3 separate regions of the Homo sapiens genome follow, and all the other regions are linked to region 3. The links are contacts of gene promoters, found by promoter capture Hi-C in human tissues and cell types (Jung and others, 2019). All regions are on one chromosome and are shown on one strand. Each heading gives the region's core, a stretch centred on a gene start or on the middle of the fragment in contact. The rest is flanking DNA. Distances are from core to core; before and after follow the strand shown.

The links. The method cuts DNA at HindIII sites, captures the fragments that hold promoters and counts their contacts. A contact is called where the count stands out against the background at its distance.
Region 1: a fragment that was not itself captured here is called in contact with the fragment with the promoter of CYP2A13 in region 3 in 2 of the 25 tissues and cell types used here (H1 embryonic stem cells and dorsolateral prefrontal cortex).
Region 2: a fragment that was not itself captured here is called in contact with the fragment with the promoter of CYP2A13 in region 3 in 2 of the 25 tissues and cell types used here (H1 embryonic stem cells and pancreas).

Annotation. Positions count from the first base shown.
Region 1 is chr19:40,931,330-40,934,974 of GRCh38, forward strand. It overlaps the pseudogene CYP2B7P. Among named protein-coding and RNA genes, the nearest start is that of CYP2A7, 51 kb to the left of the region's middle. The HindIII fragment of the contact is 3,944 bases long and covers 6-3,645 here.
Region 2 is chr19:40,952,943-40,956,302 of GRCh38, forward strand. No RefSeq gene overlaps it. Among named protein-coding and RNA genes, the nearest start is that of CYP2B6, 37 kb to the right of the region's middle. The HindIII fragment of the contact is 3,838 bases long and covers 72-3,360 here.
Region 3 is chr19:41,086,903-41,090,503 of GRCh38, forward strand. CYP2A13 (cytochrome P450 family 2 subfamily A member 13) reads left to right here and starts at 1,549. Exons shown (of 9, transcript NM_000766.5): 1 at 1,549-1,749; 2 at 2,027-2,189; 3 at 3,145-3,294; 4 at 3,502-3,601. The coding sequence starts at 1,570. The HindIII fragment of the contact is 9,937 bases long and covers 1-3,601 here.

The DNA.
Region 1 (3,645 bases), core at 728-3,227, 160 kb before region 3:
ATTCTGAAACAAGCAAAACTGTCAATGAAATTCATATTTGCCTAAAATGAGTTTTCAAAAGGATCTTTGTGGCTATCTTGTTAGTTCATAGAAAGTGGAGGCTTGTCAGGAACGATATTGAATTTTTCATTTAAATTGTTTTAGAGACAGGGTCTCAGTCTGTTACCCAGGCTGGAGTGCAATGGCACAGTGATAGCTCACTGCAACCTTGAACTCCTGGGCTCAGGAGATTCTCCCGCCTTAGCCTCCAGAGTAGCTGGGACTACAGGTGTGAACGACCATGCCCCACTATTTTTTTTTATTTTTGTAGAGACGTGTTGGGGGAGGGTCTCACTATATTGCCTTGGCTGGTCTTGAACTCCTGGCCTCAAGCAATCCTCCTGCTTCAACATCCCAAAGCATTGGGATAAGTTTTGAATAGACATGTTTGACCCTCTCCCCTTCTTCGTTGCAGCAAAGATTTCCATTTTCTCACAGGGAGGGCTTGGGGTAAATAGTTTGTTTTGTTGTTGTTGTTGTTGTTTGAGGATGTGGGTGGGTCATCTTGGTTAATGTCAGTGCAAGAACAGTGTCCGTTCCTCATTATTGGGGTTCCTTAGCCATCCAGGCAAGCAGTAGCTCCCTTGAGAAGACTTCCTGACCCCCAGGTCCCCACCATAGGCTCTCATACACCAGCTGCCCCTCCTTACTGAGCCTATGTCCTTGACAATGCTGCATTTACTTGTGATCCTGTGGCTGATCTCTCCCTCACACTTCCAGACAAGGAAGGCCTGCGAGGACTCACCACAGAGCTGAACATAGTGCCTGGTACACAATAGGCGTTTAGCAAATATGTGTATAGAAACAAATGAAGGAGTCAGTGAGTGAAAGCTCCAAGCCTGACTCAGCAGAACTGACAGTCGGCCGGGGCCTGCAAAGTGCTACCAGGCCCCCAGTAGGGGGTCGCAGATCTAAGGATCCCTCCCCACCAAATAGAGTCCCATCACATAGGTGAAGGTCTCAAGTGCCTATTGTTTTCTTTTCATCATTTTCCATGTGTCACGAGAATATCATGCTATCATGTGAATCAATGGACTTAGTTTTCCCACTAGAGTAATGTGTCTGGGAATTACCTGTGTTGTCATGGGGATTTTCTAGGTGTCATTTACAACTACCTGTGGACAAGGTGAGGTGCTACCCTCATCTTAGAAGTAGGGATGGTGGCCGGGCATGGTGACTCATGCCTGTAATCTCAGCACTTTAGGAGGCTGAGGCAGGCAGATCAACTGAGGTCAGGAGTTCGAGACCAGCCTAACTAACATGGAGAAACCCTATCTGTACTAAAAAAACACAAAACTAGCTGGTGTGGTGGCACATGTCTGTAATCCCAGCCACTCAGGAGGCTGAGGCAGGAGAATTGCTTGAACACAGGAAGCGGAAGTTGCCCTGAGCCGAGATTGCACCATTGCACTCCATCCTGGTCAACAAGAGTGAAATTCTGTCTCAAAAAACAACAACAACACAACAACAGCAATAACAAAAAAACAGTAGGGATGGAGATGCTCAGCCTGGGGAAAGCACTTGTCCAGTGGCACACAACTAGGAAAAGGAGAAGCTGAGCTCCAGCAGGAGGTCTGTCTCCAAAGCCCTCCTAGACTAAAGCTGCTTAACATTTTGTGGATTATGAAATCCTCTGAGAGTTTGATTAAAGCTGTGGCCCCCTCTTTTCCAAATAGGCACATACATGTTTGCATAAAGTTGTGAGGCTTCACAGACTCCCTAAAACTCTTTCATAAACCTTCCAAGGGTCCTCTAGGTATTCATGACCGTCTATTATGATTGCATCTCTTGGGGGTAGGGGAAAGAGGGAGGGCATGAGCAAGTGTGTGTCAAGGCTGAGGAAGGTGGCGCTGTTGCTTCTCCATTTCCCAATAAGCTTCCAGATTCCTTTTGGAGCCAGAGGGATGCGGGCTCGTGTCTCAGATTCAATTCTTATGCGTTGAGTCACAGTTTTCTCTTCTGTCAATTAAGACCATGACAATGAGAATGTGTGCCCCTAAGGTGGTTGTGAGAATTAAATGGGATATTGCATGCAGCTAGTATATAATAAGTGCTCATTAAATGGCAACTACCTTGATCCACTCATTCATTTATTCATGAATCCAATAACAATTCACTGGGCACTTTCTATGTACCAGGAAATATTCTATGAATTGATGATGTGGCATCTTGGACAAGACATACGAGGTAACACTGTGCTTATGGACATTCCATTGGTGGAGACAGATAAGCAAAAAATAAACAGATAAGGAAATGTTAGGTGGACAAGAGCTACGATTAAACTAAAGCAGGAGGATATTTCAGAAAGTGATGGAGAACTACATTAGATTGAGTGGTTAGGGAAAGACTCCGCCTTGCTTTGTTTCTTAGCAGGGACCAGGAAAGATTCAGGTGGAAGGTGCCAGAAGGAGGCAGGGTGGTTGCAAGAATCCTGAAGCAGGAAAAATCTCAGGGAACAACATGGAGGAATCAGTGGGAGGAGAAGTCAGAGAGGTGATGGGGCCACATCATGTAGGACCATGTCAACCACAGGTGGAGACTTCAGATCTTATTCTCAGCAAAGTTGGAGTATTGGAGGCCTTGGTGAGCACAGGGATATTAATTATTTTACATTTTAGTGGGGTTACCCTGGCTTGTGGGGCAGTGAAACAGTTGTTAAGGGGTCTAAGAATGTAAGGCAGGAGACCAGTGAAGGGGCTTTGCAGAGATCAATGCAGGGCATTTGTAAGTAAACTTAAACATTTTTCTAATTTTTATGTCAAGTTTTTATTGAAATTGAACATCACTATAAAAAGTGCACAGCTCAATGAATTTTCACAAACTGAACATACTCATGTAATTGACATGCAGGCCAAGTAGCAAGAGTCCCCCAAAACACCACACCCCGTCCTTTTCTAGTCACTATCCACCTACCATCTTGATCATGGGTTGATTTTGTCTGTGTTTGAACTTTTTTTTCTTTTTTGTGAGATGGAGTCTTGCTCTGTCACCCAGGCTGGAGTGCAGCAGCGTGATCTCGGCTCACTGCAACCTCCACTTCCCCACGCTCAAGGAATTCTCTTGTCTCAGCCTCCCGAGTAGCTGGGACTACAGGTGAGGGCCACCACGCCAGACTAATTTTTGTATTTTTAGTAGAGACGGGGTTTCACCATGTTGGTCAGGCTGGACTCAAACTCCTGACCTCGTGATCAGCCCGTCTCAGCCTCCCAAAGTGCTGGGATTACAGGTGTGAGTCACCATGCCCGGCCCTGTGTTTGAACTTCATACACATAAAATTATGATGCATGGACTCTCTTGTGTCTAGTTGCTTCCACTCAACATTATGCCTGTGAGTTTCAGCCACGTTATTGCATGTAGCTGTAGTTTGTTCTTTTTCGTTGCTGTATACTATTCTATTGTGTGAACTCTCACTGTTTCTCTATATCTGTGTTGATGAGTATTTTATAAAGAAAGCTTCTGTGAATATTTGTTCATTTTTTGGTGAACACACATACACATTTGTGCTGGGCATGTACCTGAGAGTGAAGTGGATGGTTTCCCAGTTATCCATTTGTTCAGCTTCAGGAAATACTGCCCAGCGGTTCCCCAAGTGGCTGCACAGTAATC
Region 2 (3,360 bases), core at 741-3,240, 130 kb before region 3:
CTCACAGTTACACATGACTGGGGAGGCCTCACAATCATGCTGAAAGGCAAAAGTCACATCTTACATGGCGCTGGCAAGAGAGAGAATGAGAACCAAGTGAAAGGGGTTTTCCATTATAAAACCAACAGATCACATGAGACTTATTGACTAGTATGAGGACAGTATGGGGGAAACCACCCCTATGATTCAATGATCTCCCACCGGGTCCCTCCCACAACATGTAGGGATTATGGCAGCTACAATTCAAGATGAGATTTGGATGGGGACACAGCAAAACCATATCACCCAGACTGGAGTGCAGTGGTGTGATCATGGCTCATTGCGGCCTCCAACTCCTGGATTCAAGCAATCCTCCCATCTCAGCCTCCTGAGTAGTGAGGACTAAGTTTGTGATACCACCTCTGGCTAACTTTTAAATATTTTGAAAGGATGTAGTCTTGCTATTTTGCCCAGGCTGGTCTTGTACTCTTGGTCTGAAATGATCTCCCCATCTTGACGTCCCAAAGCACTGAGATTACAGGTGTGAGCCATTGCACCTGGCAGGTTCTCATTTACTTAATTATTACTGTTGTCATGGTTTGCTTTGGTCCCTGTGGGTTCCCCCACCCTCCAGAACAAGTGCCTGACATATAGTAGGGTTCACAATAAATATTTGTGGAGTAAATAAGAGCTGAGCCTTCAAGGGATCCAAAATACTTGCATGGAGTTTTTCTAGGTGGGTACAATGCCACCCAGCTGCATGACTATTTCAGGGTGTTCATTGGCTCCTTTGGGTGATATTTTGACATCTATATAAGAACTCCCACTTCTCCAAATCTGGGGGCCACATCTTTAGAGTTCTCAGCTTCCCGTCTGTCAGGAATGAAGGAGATAATATCACTGATTGGAGCCAGATTGTCTGGATGTTGAATCCCAGCTCCTTGCTGGTGCCCTTGAGAAGTGACTTAAGCCCTCTGTGTGCCTTATTTCTGCCTCTGTAAGCAGAGATCATCATAGCACCTCTAATGTGGGGCTGTTTGAAGATTCAGTGAGGTATGTGCAAAGAGCTTTTTGCACTTCCAAAAAGTGTCTGGGATATCATTGTGCACTGTAAGAATGCACTGTAACAATTATCATTGAGTCTTCTTGTTGGGATTAAAAGAGATCAGGTCTGTCAGGGCCTGGTACAGAAGTGGTATCAGAAAAATAATGACGTGCCGGCTGCTCACAAGGCTTCCCAGGCCAAGCTGGTGTGGGAAAGAGAGTTTCTGGAGTACCAGATGAGTTGGTCTCCCCTATGTGAGACACCCATGGGGAGCCATGGGCGGCCTCTGAGGAGAAAAGTCTCCTTATTGTCTTTATGTCTTTATGCTCCCAGAGCATACCTGCTCAGCGGCATTCCACAGGTTGCTCAGGGAGATAACACTTCCTTAAAGCAGTGAAGTACAATCAAACATCTTGGCTTCTTCTGAAACCCACTCCCACCCATTTCAGTCCTGATAAGATTTTAAGTAGTTTAGACACACGCCTTTGCTCAAGGAAATTCACAGAAACTGCCACTGCTCTACATCTTATTGAATAACTCACGAGTTCTCCTTCATTGATTAATCCTTTTTCTCATCCCTTCCTTGCCTTCTCATCTGCCCTAAGAACAAAGAGCTTGTAAGCCAATAAATTAGGCAGAGCCAAAGAGCTCTGGGCCATGAGCAAGCCTCTGACACTCTGGTCCCCCGGACCCACCTTTTAAATTCTCACTCTGTTTCTTTCTAACTCTTTAGTCTCCGTTGGACTCGCGGTACCTGCAGGGTGGTGTGGGGCTGGTTTCCCCAACATCTGGCGCCCAACGTGGGACTCCCCGTTATCTCTACAAATAATCTGGTGAAGGAATGCTAGAGCATGGAAAGTGGAAGATGACAGAAAAAGGGTGCCTGAATATGTTTTCACTTCAAGCTCTGTGGATAAGTAGTGTGCTTGGAGAATTCCACGGTAACCTCGGGAAAACGGGTCAGGCTGAGAGTAAATTTGCTAATTACTTAAGCTTGGTGTGGCAGTTATTGTGCCACAGAGGGGCAATTGTGAGTACCCAAAATCTCACATCTTTGTTCCAGCTCATAGAAAAGTATTCCCCTTGGTTCCCGGAATATGGAACCATGAATGTAAAAGACTGCGACAAGTTCGGAGCAGACTTAAAATGAGCACAACAAGAGGGCTACAATATTCCCTTGTCTGCTTGGTCTGTGTGGTCAGCAATCAAAATACCACTGGAGCCTTTCCACACTGAGGAGGATGAGAAGTTTCAGGATGACATAGAAAAGTTTAATAATCAGGAGTTTGATGATCTGCAAAGTGAACCATCACAGTTTAGTTTTAAAAAGGGGGAGAAAGGGATATATGCTAACCTCCAAAAACTTATAGAAGAAACATTTCCACCTACTGCAGAAACAGTGCCACCCACTGCGCCTTTAGGGGAAGGTCCAGAATGGCCACCCCCGCCTCAGCCTTATGAATTTTTGGAATGGGAGCCTGAGACATGACTTGCTGCTCCCATTGTTGCATGCCCCACAATTAACTATGTTGAAGGGAAGCTTCAGGCTCACCCAACAGCCAATTATGGTGAGGGAATGATCCAGGCTTGTCCACCTTTTAATTATGGTAGAGGAATGCTGTGAGCAGGTCCAAATACAAATTACGGTGCAGGGACAATCCAGGCATCTATTTACCAGGCATGAGATGTGGGGGATTTGGATGCTTGGCAGTTTCTGGTAATTATTTCTCCAGCTGAGGAGCCCAGACAACATGCTGAAGCATGCTGGGAGCCATTTCCTTTTAAAATATTAAAAGACTTAAAGCAAGCAATTGGACAATATGGGCCAAATTCTCCTTAGGTTCATTCCTTGTTACAATCTGTGGCTTATAACAGGCATTTAATACCTATGGATTGGGAGGCATTAGCCCACTCTACCCTGTCCCCCACTGAGTTTCTCCAATTTAAAACCTGGCGGACAGATCAAGCAACAACAAATCAGGCATGCAGAAATGCTCAAGCCCAACCTCCTGTTAATATCACATCTGATCACTTGCTTGGAATCAGACAGGCATGGGGTACTCTAAATTGACAGATGGTAATGGGTGATGAGACTGTTGATCAGCTCAGAACTATATGCCTCAGAGCCTGGGAAAAAATTCACGACCCTGGTACTACTTATACTTCTTTTAACTCAGTTCAACAGGGTCCAAAGGAGCCTTATCCAGATTTTATCACCCATTTGCAAGACACGGCTCAAAAGGCTATTTTGGATTCTCATGTCAGGAAAGTGATAGTTCAGCTGCTTGCTTATGAAAATGCTGATACAGAATGTCAGGCAGAAATTAGACCTATTA
Region 3 (3,601 bases), core at 299-2,798:
ATCCCAGCTCCCTCACTTACTCCCTGTGTGACCTCACTCAAGAGGATTTATGGAGTCTAGATCTGCTCATCTTCAAAATGAGGATGATCATGATGAACCAACCTCACTGTTACAAAGATTCAACCAGATCATACACACCTAGACTTAATCTTCCCATATATGACCATGCTCACCAAAGGGTAACTGTCCTGTTTACTAAGGAAGAATTTCCTTGAGGGAAGGACAGGAGGGCTACTCATCCCTTCTCCACTCACACCCACCCCAGGATCTGCCTCTGTGCCTAATACTGGAGTTTACCCCAATCTCTTCTGCGATTGTTCCCTCTGCCTACTAATAGTAGTAGCCCCTGACAAAGCAGGAATCGCCCTTAAAGGAGACTTAACTCACCCTCAAACGTGGTCTTCTCTTCCCAAACACTCCCTTTCCACTGGCAGGAAAACCAAATCCAGAAAGTGGAACTAAAGACGCAGAGCAAGAGAGATGGGAGTTCAGGGCCACTCACACATGTCCCCTGCCCACTGTCTGTTTTCTGTCCTCTGTAGATCTTTATATAAAATGAGAAACATAAATAACAATCATAGTATTAATAGGGATGATACAATCAATCTAGTGGGTTTCCCTAAGAATCTGGGTTGGAAACCAGTGGAGTTCTTCGTAAATTACAACCCTTGGGACACTTGAGATTTTTCCAGCATTTGAGGGTTGTTATTACTATTTCTCCAGACCTAGCCAATCCCCTCTGCCAACTGGTAACATGAGGTACTCTTCTCCACGTGTGGGGAAAGTTCCTCTGAAATATGGCTCTCGTCTTCTGCCCCTTTCCCAGCCAGAGATGGGCAGCGGAGGTTCTATGGCACCCATCCTGGCCTCACTCTGAGGTTCCAATGAGGATTCTGGGCATCAAGAGACAGCTCTGGGTCAAAGCAAAATCAAGTCAGTCCCTGGGCCCAGTGCTGGGCTGCTGGGCTTTCTGGGAGCACCTGCTGGGCTTGCTACACACTCCACCTCCCAGAAACTCCACACCCACAGCCCTGGGTCTTCCTAGCCCCAAGACTTTCAAGTCCATATGCCTGGAATCCCCCGTCCTGAGACCCTTAACCCTGCATCCTCCACAACAGAAGACCCCCAGATGCACAGCCACACTTCCATCTCACCCTAGTAAAACCCAGACCTTTGGATTCCTCTCCCGTGGAATGCCCAAATCCACAACTTTGGGGTGCATTCTCACTCCCAGATCCCAAATCCAAAGTCCAGGTGCTCCCCTGTGCAAATATTCCAAACTCCTCAGTTCCACAGTTTATCTGTTGCCCGCTCCTAAATCCACAGCCCTGCAGCAACCCTCCTGAAGTACCAGATTTAGTCTGGAGTTCCCCTCCCTGTTCAGCTTCCCTGGGGTCCCTCTCCTCCTCCCTTGCTGGCTGTGTCCTAAGCTGTGTGGGATTCAGGGTTGGGGTGTAGTTGGGAGGTGAAATGAGGTGATTATATAATCAACCAAAGTCCATCCCTCTTTTTCAGGCAGTATAAAGGCAAACCACCCCAGCCATCACCATCTATCATCCCACTGCCACCATGCTGGCCTCAGGGCTGCTTCTGGTGACCTTGCTGGCCTGCCTGACTGTGATGGTCTTGATGTCAGTCTGGCGGCAGAGGAAGAGCAGGGGGAAGCTGCCTCCGGGACCCACCCCATTGCCCTTCATTGGAAACTACCTGCAGCTGAACACAGAGCAGATGTACAACTCCCTCATGAAGGTGTCCTAAGGCAGGGAGATGGGTGGCACGGGGTGGGGGCTGCCCAGTTGGCTGGGGCTTTGTGGCAGGGGATTGACCAGTGTGGACCAGAGTCTTAGGAAAGGGAGTCTTGGAGTTTCAGCATCAGGGTCCTAGCAGGAAAGACAGGATCTTGGGATGTCCAGCTCCCTGACTGTGAGAACCTGGGGGCGAAGCATCCCAGTACATGATATCTCAGTGCTGGGCCCATTCAGAGTGGGGGCTGCTCCCTCTAACCACTCCCACCTGCCTCCAACAGATCAGTGAGCGCTATGGCCCTGTGTTCACCATTCACTTGGGGCCCCGGCGGGTCGTGGTGCTGTGCGGACATGATGCCGTCAAGGAGGCTCTGGTGGACCAGGCTGAGGAGTTCAGCGGGCGAGGCGAGCAGGCCACCTTCGACTGGCTCTTCAAAGGCTATGGTGAGGGGGTGCCCAAGAGGGGGAAGGTGGCCAGGTGGATGCAATGGTCTCCGTGTCCCCAGCCTTCTCCCTGACTCTCCTGCCCACTGGAGGCTATGGCAGAGCCCCCTGTCTGGTCTTCTCTCCCCATCTCCCTTCATCGTGGCCTCTCCCTGTGCGTCCCTCACCTGTCTCCAGCGTCCCTGTCGTGATTCCTCCCTGCCTCTCTCTGCCCCGTCTCCTCCTTCTCTCTCACTGGAGTCTCCTCTTTCCCCTCTCTCTCCATCTCTGAGGACATCCTGGGTTTCTGTTTTCCAGCCCTGGTCCTCTGTCTTCATTTGTCTTTTTGTCGCTCTCGGCTTCTGTGCTTCTCCGTGTTTCTCCTCTCTCTGCTTCCCTCTCCCACTTCTTCCTCTGTCTTAGGATTTCAGGGTATTCCTACTTCCACATCTCCAGCCTCCAACTCCTGGTAATTGTCTGTCCTCCTTCCCGATCCTCTCTGTTTCTGTCTCCATATTTTTCTCTCTTCTCCAGTTCAGCTTAAGAATCTTTCACCATTTTTATTTCCTCCTCCCAGATCTCCCCATATCTCACTTCCCCTCCCTCCATCTCTCTCTTTCTCTCCCCACTTCCTTCCCTTCCTCCATGGAGTATCCCCGTATCCCTCTGTTTCTCTGCATCTGTCTGTCTGGCCTTTCTGCTTCTCTTCTGATTCTCTTATTCTTTCTACCCGGTCTCTCTCTCTCTCTCTCTCTCTCTCTCTCTCTCTCTCTCTCTCTCTCTCTCTCTCTCTCTCTCTCTCGTGCTCTCGTGTTTCTCTGACTGAGTTTGCAGCTCTCCTGGGCACTCGCGCTGAATCCATCTCTCTCCCACCCCACTCCCTCTCTGCTCCACCCTTGGGGAGCCCCTTGGAGCTGGTCCGCTCCTGCTCCCGCCGCCCCCTGACCTCTCTCCACCCCCGCGTTCACCTCCCCAGGCGTGGCGTTCAGCAACGGGGAGCGCGCCAAGCAGCTCCGGCGCTTCTCCATCGCCACCCTAAGGGGTTTTGGCGTGGGCAAGCGCGGCATCGAGGAACGCATCCAGGAGGAGGCGGGCTTCCTCATCGACGCCCTCCGGGGCACGCACGGTGAGTAGGGGACCCCGAGTGCGAGGGCGGGAACCCGCGCTTTCTGCCTGGGGATGGGGACTAGGTGGGGAAAGGGGCCCGCACTTCCAGCCCTGGAGTCTGGCGCTGGGATTCGGCTCAACAGGGCCCTGCCTCCTGGAATTCTGACTCTCCTCAGACCTCTGAGTTGACTCTCTCCCCAACCCCCTTCTCCCGCCACACCTGCAGGCGCCAATATCGATCCCACCTTCTTCCTGAGCCGCACAGTCTCCAATGTCATCAGCTCCATTGTCTTTGGGGACCGCTTTGACTATGAGGACAAAGAGTT